Linked DNA regions of Homo sapiens: regions 2, 3, 4, 5 and 6 are each linked to region 1. Evidence: promoter capture Hi-C in 16 types of primary human blood cells and fetal thymus (Javierre and others, 2016). All regions are on one chromosome and are shown on one strand. Each heading gives the region's core, a stretch centred on a gene start or on the middle of the fragment in contact. The rest is flanking DNA. Distances are from core to core; before and after follow the strand shown. Region 1 holds the start of BACH2 (BACH transcriptional regulator 2). Region 2 overlaps CASP8AP2 (caspase 8 associated protein 2). Region 3 overlaps CASP8AP2 (caspase 8 associated protein 2). Region 4 overlaps LOC124901363 (a long non-coding RNA gene). Region 5 overlaps BACH2 (BACH transcriptional regulator 2). Region 6 overlaps BACH2 (BACH transcriptional regulator 2).

Region 1 (2,980 bases), core at 214-2,713:
GGCACCAGACCAGAGGTCAGGAGACTGAGGGCTACTCCTAGCTCTAGGACTTTTCCTTATCTGAAGGCCGGGTCGGTTAGCAGAGAAAATCTCACAGTCCCGTGCCAGACCTCCACGCAGGGACTCTGCAGTGCTGTTAGAAAAATTAGCTCAGCACCTTCAGCTTGCTTTCAGCCATCACTTAGCTTTCCACACAGACATTCCAAATGGGGCCTTTCAAAACTCTGCCCTCAAATGAAGGTAGTTCAGAGCAACACTTTAGATGATATCACAAGACTCCCAGGACGCTTCACTGCTTCCTCAGCATACGCCAGTGCCCGTTTTACAGGGGGGATTTATGATCCTTCTCTCAGTAGAGCGAGCCAAACTTTTATAATATTCATTAAAAATCAGCACCACGTGTAATAATATGGAATACTGCCTGTACACAAGAGGGCCAAGTTATAGGTGTTTAGGGAAACGTGGCAGAATTTTCTGGCCTTGGCAAGAGGTAAAGTTGCAGGCACCAGCACAACACTAACACAACCTTATTTTATTGCAAATGTACATTCAGCCTAAATCCTAATTACCTTCTGTAAAATCCTAACCACCACCAAGCTTTCTTCTGACAGGGCACTCACACGACGGCCTTTAAGGGCAGCAACAACATCCTAAGAGCCGCAGAAAGGAAAGGCAGGGGAGAGTGGCTGGAAGGCAGTAGGAGCTGGGGCTGAAGCCCGGGAGGTTGGCTTTTAATGTCCTCCTGAAATTGACCACTCTCTTTCCAAAAACACTGGCTTGGGGGCTTAAAGGTTCGCTCAGTAGGGCAGGCGGAGGGCCTCCTGAAAAGGATTGAGAAGTCAACATTCAAAAGGCTGCTTTTACTCGCCCGGTCCCCACCCAAAAGGGAGTCCGGTCAGCTTTGTGGGGGCCAGTGGAGCATCTTTTCTTGCCCTTCCGGGAAAACGCTAGCTAACCCTGGGATCCCCGGTCCCGACGTCTGCTCTCCTTCCCCAGGTGCAGCACCTAGGGCTCTGGCCCCCTCCCCACGTGCCACACCAGCCCTCACCACTACTCTCACCCTGCTATGCCCCCAACCCTCGTCTTTCGTGGCCGGGAAGGCCAGGCCGAGCGGGGCGGTCAGCCGGGCCGGGAGGAGGGGGCTCTCCGGGCCGCGCGGCCGCACAAAGCGGGGAGATCTGCTGCTGCGGCGGCATGAGGCGCGCCCCCTCCCGCGAGCCAGCGGAGCGCGCGCGCCCGCCCCCGTCCCCCGCCCCCCGCCCCAGCCCCCGGAGCGCCATTCGCGGAGCGGCTTACGCTAGTCGCCGGGCGTACCGCGCCCCAGCGGCCGGGGAGGTGCGCTGCCCGGCTCCCGTAAAGTTATTGTGAATGGGGAGCGGGTGACGTCAGCGCCGAATGTCAACAATGTAGCGATTGAGAGTGTGGGCGTTCCGGGGAGAGCGCAAGCCGCGCGGCGCGGAGCAAACAGCGCCGAGCCGCCGCCGCCTCAGCAGCAGCAGCAGCAGCAGCAGCGGCAGCAGCGGCCGTGCACGCCCGGGCTGCGGTCGCACAGCGCTAACGTGAGCGGCCGCCGCCCTCGCCACCCCGCCTGCCCACTCCCGCCGCCGCCCCGCTCTCGCTTTCCCCCCGGCCTCCCCTCGCCCCTTCCCCTCCCCCTTCCCGGCGCACTCGGGGGGCTGGGAACGAGCTGCCATGTGATGCGCGTCCCCTCCGCGAGCTTTCGGTGACCCACGAACTGCCCACCTCGCCGGCTGCCGGGAGGGGGCTGCGAGCCGGGAAGACGCGGGGAAGAGGAGGCGGAAAAGGACGCAAAGTTCTCCGGCGAGGTGAGTCCCGGGCCCCGGGCCCCGGGCCCCGCCGCTGGGCGGGGTGGCGGGGCAAGTTTGCGGGGGGAGCGGGCGCGCGGGGCGGGCGGGGAGGCGTGGGGAAACGGCGCGGGAAGGGAGCCCCGGCCGCCGGGCGCGCAGCCGCCCTCCCCGCGCCCTGCCCGCTTTTATGGCATTTTCTAGGAACGGGAAGGGGGTGGGAGCCGAGCCGGCGGCCGCGCCGCGCCGAATGTGTGCTCTCCCTCCCGGCTGTTTACGGCGGCCGAGGCGCATTGTATTTTGCTGGCGTCGAAGGGTGTTTTGGAACAGCAGAGGGAGGAGGAGCAGAGAGTAATAAGTCAGGCATGGGGAGGGCGGGCTGCAGGAGGCGCGCGTCCGCGCGAGCCGCAGCAGCTGTCAGACCCGCGGCCCTGCCCCCGGCCCGGCGAGGCCCGGGTGTCCCGGCCCCCAGCCTGCGATCCCAGCTCCAGGCCGGGCGGCCTCCTCCTTAACCCTCGGCGTGCGCATCCCGGGCTGCTCCGCGAGGACCTTGGCCGCGGCGCCTTTGCGCTCAGCTGTCAGCCGCCGCCGGGTGGCCCGGACCACCGCGACCGGCGGGGAATCAAAGCCCAAGTTTAGGGTCGCAGGAAGAGGCGAGCTGGGGGCCTCGCGGCGCAGACCTGGATCGAATCTCTCCTAGCGAAAGATCGGGTTGTCGGAAAGCGTCCCGCGTAGCTAAGACCTAAGGGCGCCAGGCTTCTGAGAGGGAAACCTTGCACCTCCTCTCCCACAGATCCTCCATGAAGTCAAGGTGCAACACACACACACACACACACACACACACACCCTACACTCCAGTCTCCAAGCCCCAGAAGCTTCACCCAGGAGACTGGTTTATGAAGGGGACACTGCCCTCCCCGTCCCCGCGTCGAGGCGCTCCGTGGCCCCGCTGTGCTTCGCTCACCCGGCGGGTGTTCGGGAGCCCGGCGCCGCTGGAGACGGCGGCGGGCGGCGCTCACGGGCTACCCTAGGTGCCCACGAGGGGAGAGACTGGAGCGAGCATCTCGGCGACCTCGGTCTGGCCAAGCATTTGCAGGAACTCGGACCGTGAGGGGAAGCGTGCAGGGCCGGGAGTGAGTGTGTGAAGGGGTGGCACACTCCTGGCTTCTGGGGTC
Region 2 (2,980 bases), core at 160-2,659, 440 kb after region 1:
ATAAATCAAGCCGTTTTCCTTTATCAGTTTCATCAACTCGGAAAATAATGCATATTTGCCACATTTGCTATTTCATTCAATTTCATCAACTCAGGAAATAATGCATACTTGCCACATTTGCTATTTCATTTAATACTAAAAGAAAGCTTCCTTATAAACTGTCAACACTTTAACATTTTAATTTCTATTTATAACAACTTTTTTTTTGTTGTTTTACTTTTTTTAAGTGACAGGGTCTTGCTCTGTCACCCAGGCTGGAGTGCAGTGGCACAATCACAGCTCACTTTAACTTCAAACTCCTGAGTTCAAGAGTCCTCCCTCCTCAGCCTCCTAAGTAGCTAGGACTACAGGGGGCCATACACAGCTAATTGTTTTATTTTTTTGTAGAGATGAGGTTTCGCTACCTTGCTAAGGCTGGGCTCAAACTCCTGGCCTCAAGCAATCCTCTCACCTCTGCCTCTCAAAGTGCTGAAATTACTGGTGTGAGTCACTGTGCCTGGTAATTTGTTTTTTATGTTTTCATTTATACTCTACCTGTGTCTGTATTTCTTTAAATTTTTTCATCAGCTCTTTCATTTGTAGTTGACATTTTCCATATTCTACTTGCAACTATAAAATATAAAAGGATTAATTGAAGTATCATTCAAAATTATTTTCTTAGCTTAACTGGCATTTCTAAATATTTTAAATTTTGCAAATCAATTCACTAAGAAGGCAGATGAGGTCTACTTCTACCAGAAAGATAACCAGTTTTAAAGTTAAGCCTACAAATAATCTATTTTGTTTAGTTTCACATTCAACATCCAAACCTTAAAATTCAAATATAGTAGAAAGAAATAGAAGTCTGAGGACATTTTATGCAACATATAATTTAACTTTGTACATATCATGAAAGAAAAAATGTTGTAACACTGTTTGCCTGTTGAGGTTTTATATTCAGATGCTTAAATTGGGTCAAGCAAAATTATAACTAAATTTAGACAAGTATTCAGAAAACATTCCTTTAAAAAACAGGTCTGAAGACAAAAACTGACTTAAATATTTGTTAGTCTAAGAGCTAAGTTCCTAAACAAAATATCTGTTCAAAACTAAGCAGCTGACTGCTCTTCAGAAGCTACAAAACAGTAAATAACTGTCCTTAATAATTGTGGCAACCCATACATCATTATATGTTGCCTCCTTTGCAGTTCCTTCTTCAGTCAGGATCTCTTCATATAAGTCCAAACAATTTCTTGATGGTACACAGGATTTGGAAGCGCTGTCTAAAAACAAACAAACAAAAAAAACCTTCCATAAAAATACTTGTTACACTTTTTTCTTTTGTTTTTTTGAGTCTCGTTCTGTCACCCATGCTAGAGTGCAGTGGCAGTGGTGCAAATCTTGGCTCACTGTAGCCTCACCCTCCCAGGTTCAAGCCATTCTCATGCGTCAGCCTCCCGAGTAGCTGGGATTACAGGTGCACGCCACCACGCCCCACTAATTTTTGTATTTTTAGTAGAGATGGTGAGATGGTGTTTCACCATGTTGGCCAGGCTGGTCTCGAACTCCTGACCTCAAGAAATCCACCCGCCTTGGCCTCACAAAGTGAAAATATTTGTCACACCTTTTTTTTTTAGGAGTCTCCCTCTGTCACCCAGGCTGGAGCGCAGTGGCGCTATCTTGGCTCACTGCAACCTCCGCCTCCTGGGTTCAAGCGATTCTTCTGCCTCAGCCTCCCTGAGTAGCTGGGACTATAGGCACGTGCCACCATGCCCAGGTAATTTTTTTTGTATTTGTAGTAGAGACGAGTTTTCACTATGTTGGCCAGGCTGGTCTCCAACTCCTGACCTCAGGGGATCCGCCCGCCTCGGCCTTGCAAAGTGCTGGGATTACAGGCGTGAGCTACCGCGCCCAGCCTTGTTACACTTTTTGATATTTTATCTACTTCAAAGATTATACATTTCTCCATCTCCCATACTTCATCCTACATTTCACTTATCCTACATTCCAAATTTATACTGATTTTACAGATGGACTACCAATTTACCTAAAATGGTTGTGTCAACCAAATTAGGTATGAAGATCATAACTGTTCAAAACTCTGAGAAATCTGATTATGGAAAAGGTTTCTAATTTGAATAGGTCATTAGATTCTCAGCATATCACTCTTACTGATACGTTTAAAAATATTTATAGTAACTTACACTTTTCAAATGTTCTAATATCATATAACCTTCAAGAGTATGAGTGCGGCCAGGTGTGGTGACTTATGCCTGTAATCCCAGCACTTTGGGAGGCTGAGGTGGGCGGATCACGAGGTCAGGAGATCGAGACCATCCAGGCTAACATGGTGAAACCTTGTCTCTACTAAAAATACAAAAAATTAGCCGGGTGTGGTGGCACGTGCCTGTAGTCCCAGCTACTTGGGAGGCTGAGGCAGGAGAACCACTTGAACCCAGGAGGCGGAGGTTGCAGTGAGCCGAGATCAAGCCACTGCATTCCAGCCTGGGCGACAGTGTGAGACTCCGTCTCAAAAAAAAAAAAAAAAAAAAAGAGTATGAGTGAGTAGTAACAGACACCAGCACTAGTTGCACTTCAATAGTAGAAAATGTTTTTGCACAAGGCTCAATTAAATCTGAGACTGAGATGAATAAAAAACCTGTGTGCTAATTTGTTTTTCTGATCAAGCTTTGGTTAAGATTGGGTTCTGGAAGTTACTGTGGGGGAAAAGAAAGAAAAGAATTACCTCAGTGTAATTACAAAGAATGAGCAAATTCTTTAGGAGCTATGATATACCAGGATTTAGTAACCACAAAACAATGAACTGACCAAGAAAATGAAACTATTTTTATGGAATTCACATACCAGAAACAGCACTGTCCAACCCAGCGTATATGTCCAGTGAGCCTTCATCATTGTTCTTAAGAGGAGAAGCTGCAAGAAAGGCAAAGATTAGTTAAAAATGACTTTAGGCACTGAGATTTTTCCATTCCTACACTAA
Region 3 (2,980 bases), core at 276-2,775, 420 kb after region 1:
GTATGAGATCTTCTGAGTGAGAGTATGCACTGCAGAAGGACTGATGGCCAACCCTCTAGTTGGTATTAAGGGTTCAAAGAGAGGGAAGGGGACAAGCCCCATGTTGGAGAGCCCTAGCACTACAAAACCACTGCTATTTATTTCAATGTGTAATCTTTTAGGACAGGGCTTCTTCCTTTGGACACCCTGAGAAAAATGGCAATGAGAAGAGGCACTTCCTAGAGTCTAGGGCCTAGATTATTAACTGAGAAGTTCTGTGAGTCTGAAGGCTGAAGGGTGAAGAAGTAATGCCCAAGCTAATCAATCCTTACACCTGTTTTCTCCAAAGCTTCACCCAAAAAGCTCTTGTGCTACTCTAATTTTATCTGTGAGGACACCTGCAGCAGAGATATGGTTCACCGTTCTAGTACTTGCTGTGAGAAGGCAGGCAACAGCAATCAGTTTTCTCAATCTACTCAGAACCATTCAGCCAGCCACACCCCAACCAGGAACCACTTCAAAATTGCACCCTACGTCCCCTAGGACTTTTACCTCTTTTGATTTTTTAAATTATTACCTAAACACAATAAAAGTAAAAGAAACATTCGAATCAAAATACAACAAAACTTTACATGGTTTTATTATACATTACTGTTATTGAAAGCAAACTTTATACAAAAAGTTTTATACAGATAAAAAAAATCCTTGGCTAGGCAAAGCCGTTTATGTGTGTGCATATACAGAAACACACATACATACATATACACACGGTATTTTACATCATAATTATACATATTTATAAATACATTATTTAAATTATTTTACAATATACCAAAACAAGGAGGCAATTATAAAAGCAAATAAAAAATGGATGAACAATTGAACTAAATAGTCACTAAGTTTAAAATGCTACAAAACTATTTTTTTAATCTAGAAAGTCATTTCTTTAAAATATCAAAACTAAGATTTCAATACATCACTGTTGCTTTCATTTTGGTAAGTTCTAACATGTTTAAAAATAAATATTTTGACCAAAAACAGATAAGCAAATCAGAATGATGACTAGCACAAGCTGAACATGCTGATGTGAAATTAGAGAGTCACTGAGTAATAACAAATATAGATTATCATCTGGTAACCAAAAAGGTGATAAACCTCCCTCTAGTGCTCATTTAAAACATGAGGAATTTGAAGCTTCTGTGTAGTATGCAATATCAGTTAAGAGTCCCAGGAATTCAGCAACTTATCTGTAATGTAAGAAAATGCTAAAGTTATTATTCTATTTTTCTGATAGGACTATCTCATAATGTGTTATCTTAAATGAGCTCCATTTAGACGATATTGGTGTTTAATAAACTAGCTTTCTCATCTTCCAATTGGTCTCAAAATTTAAAAAAAAACCTAGCTTTTGCAATCAGTTTGGTAACTATCATTATACTTGATATTGACAAAAATTTAATAGGACTACAGTACTTGTGGGGAAAAAAAATCAGTTAAGAGGCAAGCTACGAATGAAATAACCCACAATATGTGCTATCCTGCAAGCAAAGAAATCTCAAATATCAAATTCATTAAATGGTTTTAGATTTTTGGCCAGGTGCAGTAGCTTACGCCTGTAATCTGAGCACTTTGGGAGGCCAAGGCAGATGGATCGCTTGAATCCAGGAGTTCGAGACCAGCCTGGGCAACACAGCGAAACCCCATCTCTGTTTAAAAGAATTTACATTCTCTTCACAAGAGAACGGAAATCATACTTTAATATAACATTAAGGTAAAAAAAAGAAACGATTTAATTTCTTAAAGGCAGCAAAAATCTTAAAAAGCACAGTTAATCTAATAAATAATCAAGCCACTTTTGCCCAGAGCTTTTTAAAAAAAAGTTCTTTAGAATAAGCTTCTTCTCCAAATTCCCCATTATTCAAGCTTACAGTATTCTGTTGTGTTTTGTTCAAGTGATTCTCCTGCCTCAGGCTCCCAAGTAGCTGGGATTACAGGCACGTTCCACCATACCCAGCTAATTTTTGTAATTTTGGTAGAAATGAAGTATCATCATGTTGGCTGGGCTGGTCTCGAACTCCTGAACTCAGGTGACCTGCCCACCTTAGCCTCCCAAAGTGCTCGGATTACAGGCATGAGCCACTGCACCCGGCAACATTCTGAATTATATAAGTAGAAATTTAACGTCATAATCACTTGAACCCGAGAGGCAGAAGTTGCAGTGAGCTGCGATCATGCGGCTGCACTCCAGCCCGGGCGACAGAGTGAGACTCCGTCTCAGAACAAACAAAAGAAATTTAACATCATAGTAAACTACTACACATATTTTGAAGATTTCACTAGCACTGCGCTCTATGTCCAAATCAAGTTTTTGTTTTTTTTTTCTTTTCTTTCTGAGAGGCAGAGTCTCACTCTTTCAGGCTGGAGTGTAGTGGCGCAATCTTGGCTCACCGCAACCTCCACCTCCCAGGTTCAAGCGATTCTCATGCCTCAGTCTCCCAAGTAGCTGGGATTACAGACACGTGCCACCATGCCTAGCTAATTTTTGTATTTTTTGTAGAGATGGGGTTTCACCATGTTGGCCAGGCTGGTATAGAACTCCTGGCCTCAAATGATCTGCCCACCTCGGCCTCCCAAAGTGCTGGGATTACAGGTGTGCCACTGTGCCCGGCTAATTTTTTGTATTTTTAGTAGAGACGGGGTTTCACCATGTTAGCCAGGATGGTCTCAATCTCCTGACCTTGTGATCTGCCCTCCTCGGCCTCCCAAAGTGCTGGGATTACAGGCGTGAGCCATCGCGCCTGGCCTGACTCCATCTCTTAAAACATTTTTTTCACGCCTGTAATCCCAGCACTTTGGGAGGCCGAGGTGAGCAGATCACATGAGACCCAGAGTTCAAGACCAGCCTGGCCAACACAGCAAAACTCCGCCTCTCTAGTAATCTACTAAACATACAAAAAATTAGCTGGGTGTGGTGGCACACACCTGTAATCCCAGATACTCG
Region 4 (2,980 bases), core at 242-2,741, 290 kb before region 1:
CTTAGCCAAATCAAGTTGACACAAAATTAACCATCACAGAGCTCAATCTGAATAAACATATGAATAATGAGCATTTGCTGGTTGCATACCCACCACCCATCAACCATTGCCTGCTTTGCTGTTCCTAAGAGTATTAAGATTTTCCTTCGGGTTAGCATCTCCTCCTCCTCCTTAGAGCCCATGTTTCCAGGAGCCCTCAATCTAAGTTAAACAACGTACAGTCATGCATTGCTTAACTACAGGGATAAGTTTTGAGAAGTGTGTTGATCGGCAATTCCACCATTATGTGAACATCATAGAGTGTACTTATACAAACATTATATACTTATATCATTACAAGATGACATAGCCTACTATACACCTAGGCTATATGGTATACCTAGGTATATAACAGCTATACCTGTTCCTAGGCTACAAGCTGTATAAACCATGTTACTATACTGAATACTGCAGGCAAATGTAACACAATGGTATTTGTGTATCTAAACATAGAAAAGGTACAGTAACGAAACAATATAAAAGATTTAAAAAAATGGTACACCTATATAGGGCACTCACCATAAATGGAGTTTGCAAGACTGGAAGTTACTCTGGGTGAGCCAGTGAGTGACTGGTGAGTGAATGCGAAGGCCTAGAACATTACTGTACACTACTGTAGACTTTATAAACACTGTACTCTTGGGTTACACTAAATTTATTTTTTAAAAGTTTTCTTCAACAATAAATTAACCTTAGCTTATTATAACTCTTTTACTTCATAAACTTTTAAATTTTTTAAAACTTTTTGACTCTTTTGTAATAACACTTAGCTTTAAAACACAAACACACTGAACAGCTGTACAAAAGTATTTTATTTGGATCCTTATTCTATACACTTTTTTCTGTTTATTTATTTTTTTATAGTTTTTAAACGTTTTGGCTAAAAAGTAAGACAAACATATGTTGGCCTAGGTCTACCTACACAGGGTCAGGATCATCAACATCACTATCTTCCACCTCCACATCTTGTCCCACCAGAAAGTCTTCAGGGGCAATAACACGCACGGAGCAGTCATCTCTTATGATAACAATGCCTTCTTCTGGAATACCTCCTGAAGGACCTGCCTGAGGCTGTTTTATAGTTTTTTTATGGAAGTAGGAGTACACTGTAAAATAACAATTAAAAAGTATAGTATAGTAATTATATAAACCAGTAACATAGTTGTTTATCATTATCAATATTATGCACTGCACATAATTGTATTATACTTTTGTATGACTAGCAGCATAAGTTTGTTTACACCAGTATCACCACAAACACGAGTAATGCACTATAAGTAATGTGTCATGCTATGACATTACTATGGCTACAATGTCACTAGCCAATAGGATTTTTTCAGCTTCATTATAATCATATAGGACCACTGTCACATATGAGGTCCATTGACCAAAAAATCGTTATGCAGCGCATGACTGTGTGTATCCTCAAGCATCCTGTTCCCCATCCCTCAAGGGTAAACTTACCAAGGGCTTTTGAAAAAGAATGTTTAACTGCTCTTCTGAGATGGCTACCAAGAGATGCTCTCGGTTGTACTTTGTGATGTGTCATGTGAAAAATGAAACTGCTAGTACATGCATTCTCAATGGAGGCAATAACACCTCCACAGGGGGCAAAAACTGGAGAGAGAAAAAATCTTACTCTTTTTACATAGAAAGCACAAATATACATACAATACATAAATAGATATACAGTGTATCTGAGGTATTAAAACTTTGAGGAGGGGCATTAAGATGTCTAAAAAGGCTCCTTAAAAGAACAATAATGAAAAAAAAGATTGAAAAACACTATTGTAGAATATAGCAAATACCACAAAAGGCAGAAGAGAATAATGGAAACTCAATTATTGATGTTATCATCAAGCCTATGATGGAAATATGGAACACTTGTCTGACATATATATGACCCAGAACATTAAAGTGGTGTTACTTTAGTCCCAGTTTCTGCTAAGCCTCCATTAAAATAGGTCCCAGATATCCCTACACCCAAAATGAGCCAAATAAGATCAGAATCTCATTTAGAACAAGCAAAGAGGTGGTGGGAAATGGATTTTGAAACCCTTGTCCTCTCAACCCCTGGAGAGTATAAAAGGGCCAAAATTGAAGACAGAGTTGGAAGTTAGAGAGTAGTTATTAGGGTGCTGACATGAGGGAGAATGGTGGAGGGTGCTCAAACTCGGAGGGACTTCAAGGAATTTACTTAAATAGTTTTGATATGTATCCGGAAACGTGTGGAGACACACAGACTGGTGACTGAAGTTGACATGAAATTCTGAGGTCAAGTTTCTATCCTTAATTCATGAAAGTTAAAGGAAATGCAAAGTCAAAATTGAAGTGAACTGAGAGAGGTTCAGCTCCCCTCCATCATTCCTCTGCATTTAAACTTTATTACTTAGGATTATTTGGTTACAAGTGACAAAAATACAACTTGGACCAGCTTAAATGAAATGGTAATTTACTAGCTCACATAACCAAATCACAGAATGTAAGAGATGGATTGGACCTTGGGAATGACTGAACCCAGAGACATAAACACTGATGAAACTTTCCATCTATTACTAGAAGCTAGGGAAAAGGCGCAGGCAGACAAAAAAGAAAAAAGTAATCTGCAAGCAAGTTGGACAAAAATTGATTTTAGACTGGCATCAATATTAGAAGTCCAAATCAGTGGATAAAACATAGAAGTGTTGGGGTAGAAGATATTCAAAATCATGTAATCAATTCACTTTGAAATGCATCTAGCAAAATGGTAGATGGATGTAAATATGGATGGAGAGATGAGATGCACATATGTATATTATGATAAAGCAAGTATAGTAAAATGTTAAAGGTAGAATCCTGGTGGTGGGCATATAGGTGTTCACCATAAATTCTTTCAACTTTTCTCTATATTTGACATTTTTGTAACAAAATTTTGGGGGGAAAAATCAAGCAGGAGAACTGC
Region 5 (2,980 bases), core at 238-2,737, 290 kb after region 1:
TTACAGGCACACGCTACCATGCCTGGCTAATTTTTGCGTTTTTAGTAGAGATGGGGTTTCAGCATGTTGGCCAGGCTGGTCTCACACTCCTTACCTCAAGTTATCCACCTGCCTCAGCCTCCCAAAGTCTTGTGATTACAGGCGTAAGCCACCATGCCCGGCTGCTGAGAAAAATTCAAGATGATCTAAATAAAGAGACTGTGTTCATGGGTCAGAAGATTCATTATTGTTAAGATGGCAGTTCTTCCTAAATTCATCAGTAGATTCAGTACAATCTCAGTGAAAATTCCAGCAGACTATTTTGTAGAAATTGGCAAGCTGATTATAAAATGTATATGGAAATGCAAAGGATCAAACTAACTTTGAAAAAGAGCAAATCAAGACACTATGATAGTAACATAAAAGTAGATATAGAGGCTGGGTACAGTGGCTCACATCTGTAATCCCAGCACTTTAGGAGGCTGAGGTAGGAGGATCACTTGACGCCAGGAGTTTGAGACTAGCCTGGGCAATATGGCGAGACCTCATCACTCATACACACACACACACACACACACACACACACACACACACACACATATTTTTTTTTTTGAGACAGAGTCTTGCTGTGTCACCCAGGCTGGAGTGCAGTGGTGTGATCTCGGCCACTGCAACCTCCGCCTTCTGGGTTCAAGCGATTCTCCTGTCTCCGCCTCCCAAGTAGCTGGGATTACAGGCACGTACCACCACACCCAGCTAATTTTTGTATTTTTAGTAAAGACGCAGTTTCGCTGTGTTGGCCAGGCTGGTCTCGAACTCCTGACCTCGTAACCTGCCTGCCTCAGCCTCCCAAAGTGCTGGGATTACAGGAATACAAAAAATATTTTTAAATTAGCCAGATACGGTGATGCACACCTGTAGTGCCAGCTACTGCTGTGAGCTATGGCCATGCCACTGCACTCCAAAGTGATACCCTGTCTCCAAAACAAAACAAAACAAAAGTAGACAAACATAAAAATAGTAAAAGACAGAGTCCATAAATAGATTCATAAATGTAAAAACAACTGATTTTCAGTAAAAGTACAAATAAGCAAGGTTTGTCTCCAAAAAAAACAAAAGTAGACAAACATAAAAATAGTAAAAGACAGAGTCCATAAATAGATTCATACATGTAAAAACAACTGATTTTCAGTAAAAATACAAAGGTAATTCAGGAGAGAAAAGAGTATTTTTAACAATGCTGCGGGAATGATTGGATATTCCTATGCAAAAGGAAAAAAAGAACCTCAATCCATACCTGTTACCTACACAAAAATTAACTCAAAATGGGCCATAGACCTAAATGTAAGGGCTAAAAAAATAACACTTCTAGCAGAAAACAAGAGAAAATCTTTATGACCTTGGTTTAGTTTTTTAGATGTGACACCAAGATGGTTTTTTGGCTTCATCAAATAAAGACTTTCTGTTCCTTGAAAGACACTTTTAAGAGAATCAAAAGACAAGCTACAGACTGGGAAAAAATTTTTACAAGTCATGTATCTGATAAAGGACTTTTATTCAGAATATATGAAGAACTCTTAAAACTGAAAAATAAGAAAACAACCCAATTAAAAATGGGCAAAGAATCTAAATAGACATTTCTTCAAAGAAAATATACAGAGGTCAAATAAACACATGGAAGATTCTCAACAACTTCAGGCATTAGAGAAAGCAAATTAAACCCAAAAAGAAATATGATAGACCTATTACAATGTCCAAAACTAGAAAGAGTGACCATACCAAATGTTGGCAAGGATGTGAAGGAACTGGAACTCATACACTGCTGGTGGAAATGTAAAATGTTACAGCCACTTTAGAAAACAGTGGCAGACTCTTTAAAAGTTATGCTTACACATACCATATAATACATTCTACTCACAGGTATTTACCCAAGAGAAGTGAAAGCATATGTCCATCCAAAGAATTGTATGTGAATGTTCACAGCAGCTTTATTTGTAAATAAATACTGGAAACAACCCAAATATCCACTAATAGATGAATGGATAAAAAAAAAGTTACGCTATATTTATACAATAGGATGCTAAGTAATAAAGGAACAAACTTGATATATGCAGCAACATGGATGAATGGTGAAATAATTATGCTGAATAGAAGAAGCCAGATATAAAAGAATATGTAGTTTATGATTCCATTTATATGAAACTCTAGAAAATGCAAGCTAATATAGAATGTCAGAAAGCTGATCAGTCGTTGTAGCGGTGGGGTACAGAGAGGTACAAGGGAAAAATTATTACAAGGGCCTTAAGGAGACTTTTGGTGATGATGGATTTGTTTACTATCTTTATTGTGATGATGGTTTCACAGTTACATACACAATCAAAACATCAAATTGCTCACTATAAATATGTACAGTTTATTGTATGTTAAAGCTGTTTTAAAAAAATAAGAAAGCCAAAAAGAAAGTAGGACTCGCTACTGGAATTCTTACTACTCTAGCAAACATTACAGAAAAACTATGTAACTATATAAATTAATTACAGATACTGTATTTTAAAATACCTCAGCGGGGCCAGGCACAGTGGCTCACGCCTGTAATCCCAGCACTTTGGGAGGCCGAGGCGGGTGGATCACCTGAGGTCAGGAGTTCAAAACCAGCCTGGCCAAGATGGTGAAATCCCGTCTGTACTAAAAATACAAAAATTAGTTAGGCACGGTGGCACATGCCTGTAATCCCAGCTACTTGGGAAGCGGAGGCAGGAGAATCACTTGAACCCAGGAGGTGGAGGTTGCAGTGAGCTGAGAATCGCACCATTGCACTTCAGCCTGGGCGACAAGAACAAAACTCCCTCTCAAAAAAAAGAAAAAGAAATATTTCAATGGATATTTTTTAAAGCAAAGAACCTTTTGTAAAAGTAATCTTGACTGTTGAATGCATCTTTTTTCATGACTGCTATTGTGATATATTGTGTTTCCTTAAAGGGGATGTACATCAATTCAGCTG
Region 6 (2,980 bases), core at 237-2,736, 270 kb after region 1:
TTCTGAGGACTCTGTTCTGTTCCATTGGTCTATATGTCTGTCTTGGTACCAGTACCATGCTGTTTTGGTTACTGTAGCCTTGTAGTATAGTTTGAAGTCAGGTAGCATGATGCCTCCAGCTTTGTTCTTTTGGCTTAGGATTGACTTGGCAATGCGGGCTCTTTTTTTGTTTCCGTATGAACTTTAAAGTAGTTTTTTCCAATTCTGTGAAGAAAGTCATTGGTAGCTTGATGGGGATGGCACTGAATCTATAAATTACTTTGGGCAGTATGGCCATTTTCATGATATTGATTCTTCCTACCCATGAGCATGGAATGTTCTTCCATTTGTTTATATCCTCTTTTATTTCATTGAGCAGTGGCTTGTAGTTCTCCTTGAAGAGGTCCTTCACATCCCTTGTATGTTGGATTCCTAAGTATTTTATTCTCTTTGAAGCAATTGTGAATGGGAGTTCACTCATGATTTGGCTCTCTGTTTGTCTGTTATTGGTGTATAAGAATGCTCATGATTTTTGCACATTGATTTTGTATCCTGAGACTTTGCTGAAGTTGCCTATCAGCTTAAGGAGATTTTGGGCTGAGAAGATGGGGTTTTCTAGATATACAATCATGTCATCTGCAAAGAGGGACAATTTGACTTCCTCTTTTCCTAATTGAATACCCTTTATTTCCTTCTCCTGCCTGGTTGCCCTGGCCAGAACTTCCAACACTATGTTGAATAGGAGTGGTGAGAGAGGGCATCCCTGTCTTGTGCCAATTTTCAAAGGGAATGCTTCCAGTTTTTGCCCATTCAGTATGATATTGGCTGTGGGTTTGTCATAGATAGCTCTTATTATTTTGAGATATGTCCCATCAATACCTAATTTATTGAGAATTTTTAGCATGAAGGTTGTTGAATTTTGTCAAAGGCCTTTTCTGCATCTATTGAGATAATCATGTGGTTTTTGTCATTGGTTCTGTTTATATGTTGGATTATGTTTATTGATTTGCGTATGTTGAACCAGCCTTGCATCCCAGGGATGAAGCCCACTTGATCATGGTGGATAAGCTTTTTGATGTGCTGCTGGATTTGTTTTGCCAGTATTTTCTTGAGGATTTTTGCATCAATGTTCATCAAGGATATTGGTCTAAAATTCTCTTTTTTTGTTGTGTCTCTGCCAGGCTTTGGTATCAGGATGATGCTGGCCTCATAAAATGAGTCAGGGAGGATTCCCTCTTTTTCTATTGATTGGAATAGTTTCAGAAGGAATGGTACCAGCCCCTCCTTGTACCTCTGGTAGAATTCGGCTGTGAATCCATCTGGTCCTGGACTTTTTTTGGTTGGTAAGCTATTAATTATTGCCTCAATTTCAGAACCTGTTATTGGTCTATTCAGAGATTCAACTTGTTCCTGGTTTAGTCTTGGGAGGGTGTATGTGTCAAGGAATTTATCCATTTCTTCTAGATTTTCTAGTTTATTTGCGTAGAGGTGTTTATCGTATTCTCTGATGGTAGTTTGTATTTCTGTGGCATCGGTGGTGATATCCCCTTTGTCATTTTTTATTGCGTCTATTTGATTCTTCTCTCTTTTCTTCTTGATTAGTCTTGCTAGCGGTCTATCAATGTTGTTGATCTTTTCAAAAAACCCTGCTGGTCTGATTTTCATTCGAAAATCAGAAACCTTCCTCCTACCATCTTCTCTCAAACCCAGGCCTTCCAGAGCCACGTCTACTCCCAGGGCAGCAGAGGCCTGGGCTGTGGTCGCTGTCACATTCTGAAAGCATCATCCTGAGGGTGCCATTGAGGGTCCTGTGTGCTGGCTGTTTTCCTGAGGGCTGCGGAAAGGAAGGGCATAATTGGTCCTCTGTTTGGCAGTTTGAGATAGGCCGTGGACATAAGGGGGTGGGATCAGAGCCATCTCTTAGAAGCAAGAGCACACAAGCTTTTACCAGGAGAGAACAGCCTAATTCTACTCTGCAAGGATCCACATTGTATAGAGCCAATGGGCAATGTGTTTCTGGATTTGTGAGTATTTGAGCACAGAGAGCTTCAGAAATAAAGCACACTCAAGACCTTCTACTCAGCATCTCTGCAAATGGGAGCTTTTCCTTCACTGTGTCAATCTAAGCCTTTCTTTTGCTTTTGTACCATCCCATTATCTTGGCTGTGTGTCTTGGAGGTTATATCATTAGTTTTCTCTAACGGTCGCATTGCTTAGAATGGAGTAAGTTTTCTGTGGATAAATGGATAGGCAAGGCGACCTTGAGGCCCAGAAAAGACAAGCAGCTCTGGAGAGCGTAGGGATATGTGTGAAGAAACAGGCTGGAAGGAGACCTCAGCAGAAACAGAAGTGACATATGGACCTGTTGGGATTAGGAAAAGTCTTTTTTAGTCACTTTCTTATTAAGTATGTATTGAGTGTAGCACTTTGAAGTTCTGCGGCTTCAATGGTGAGCAAAACAGGTAAAAATTCCTGCCCTCAATAGAAAAATAGGTCATTAACAAAATATGAGTAAAATATAGTGTGTGTGAGATGTGAAAACGTTATAAAGAAACATAAACAGGGAGGGAGGATGGAGAGTGAGGTGGGAGGCTGGGGTTGTGGTTTAAACGGAGCAGGGTGGTTAGGGAGGCCTCACTGAGAATGTGATGTCTGCACAGAGACCTGAGGAGGCCAGGGATTGAGCCATCACATTTACATCTCCTAACAGTCTCTCGGGAGACAGTCTTTATCTTCATTTCACACATAAGGAGACTCTAAGGACTTAAATAAATTGCCCAAGTCCCCTCGTTCTTGGAATGGCAGGGCGGGGAGTCTTAGTTTGTAGGGTTGTTTGAAATCAGCTGTCATGGGGTTAAAATGCAGATCGCTGAACCTGCTGTGGTTACCCTAAATCTATGCAGTTAGAGAACTATTGTTATTTCCAGAGATAGGAAGCAGGCCGGGAGAGTCTGGGTGTTAGGTGGGCAGGGCCAAAAGCAGGAAATACTTACGTGAAGAA

Evidence for each region. Contacts are between HindIII fragments. The CHiCAGO score rates a contact against its expected background, and 5 or more counts as called.
Region 2: a fragment that was not itself captured here is called in contact with the fragment with the promoter of BACH2 in region 1 in 2 of 17 cell types (activated CD4 T cells and total CD4 T cells); the score reaches 9.0 in activated CD4 T cells.
Region 3: a fragment that was not itself captured here is called in contact with the fragment with the promoter of BACH2 in region 1 in 2 of 17 cell types (activated CD4 T cells and naive CD8 T cells); the score reaches 10.3 in activated CD4 T cells.
Region 4: a contact is called between a fragment that was not itself captured here and the fragment with the promoter of BACH2 in region 1, in 2 of 17 cell types (megakaryocytes and fetal thymus). The highest score is 5.7, in megakaryocytes.
Region 5: a fragment that was not itself captured here is called in contact with the fragment with the promoter of BACH2 in region 1 in 6 of 17 cell types (non-activated CD4 T cells, naive CD4 T cells, total CD8 T cells and 3 more); the score reaches 8.8 in non-activated CD4 T cells.
Region 6: a contact is called between a fragment that was not itself captured here and the fragment with the promoter of BACH2 in region 1, in 2 of 17 cell types (non-activated CD4 T cells and naive CD4 T cells). The highest score is 5.6, in non-activated CD4 T cells.

What each region holds. Positions count from the first base shown.
Region 1 is chr6:90,295,326-90,298,305 of GRCh38, reverse strand. BACH2 (BACH transcriptional regulator 2) reads left to right here and starts at 1,463. Exons shown (of 9, transcript NM_021813.4): 1 at 1,463-1,826. LOC105377891 (a long non-coding RNA gene) reads right to left here and starts at 1,067. Exons shown (of 7, transcript XR_942778.4): 1 at 570-1,067. RefSeq lists silencers at 1,550-1,599, 2,225-2,284. The HindIII fragment of the contact is 2,083 bases long and covers 600-2,682 here.
Region 2 is chr6:89,853,099-89,856,078 of GRCh38, reverse strand. CASP8AP2 (caspase 8 associated protein 2) reads right to left here. Exons shown (of 10, transcript NM_012115.4): 3 at 2,845-2,913; 4 at 1,162-1,262; 5 at 535-609. Among named protein-coding and RNA genes, the nearest start is that of CASP8AP2, 25 kb to the right of the region's middle. The HindIII fragment of the contact is 2,521 bases long and covers 149-2,669 here.
Region 3 is chr6:89,872,052-89,875,031 of GRCh38, reverse strand. It overlaps CASP8AP2 (caspase 8 associated protein 2), which reads right to left. Exons shown (of 10, transcript NM_012115.4): 10 at 596-1,231. The coding sequence ends at 1,223. Among named protein-coding and RNA genes, the nearest start is that of GJA10, 21 kb to the left of the region's middle. The HindIII fragment of the contact is 700 bases long and covers 1,176-1,875 here.
Region 4 is chr6:90,588,813-90,591,792 of GRCh38, reverse strand. LOC124901363 (a long non-coding RNA gene) reads right to left here. Exons shown (of 2, transcript XR_007059680.1): 2 at 834-1,145. Among named protein-coding and RNA genes, the nearest start is that of MAP3K7, 3.2 kb to the right of the region's middle. The HindIII fragment of the contact is 5,597 bases long and covers 1-2,980 here.
Region 5 is chr6:90,009,531-90,012,510 of GRCh38, reverse strand. All of the region lies in intron 5 of BACH2 (BACH transcriptional regulator 2), which reads left to right. Among named protein-coding and RNA genes, the nearest start is that of GJA10, 120 kb to the right of the region's middle. The HindIII fragment of the contact is 6,501 bases long and covers 1-2,980 here.
Region 6 is chr6:90,029,063-90,032,042 of GRCh38, reverse strand. All of the region lies in intron 5 of BACH2 (BACH transcriptional regulator 2), which reads left to right. Among named protein-coding and RNA genes, the nearest start is that of GJA10, 140 kb to the right of the region's middle. The HindIII fragment of the contact is 873 bases long and covers 1,050-1,922 here.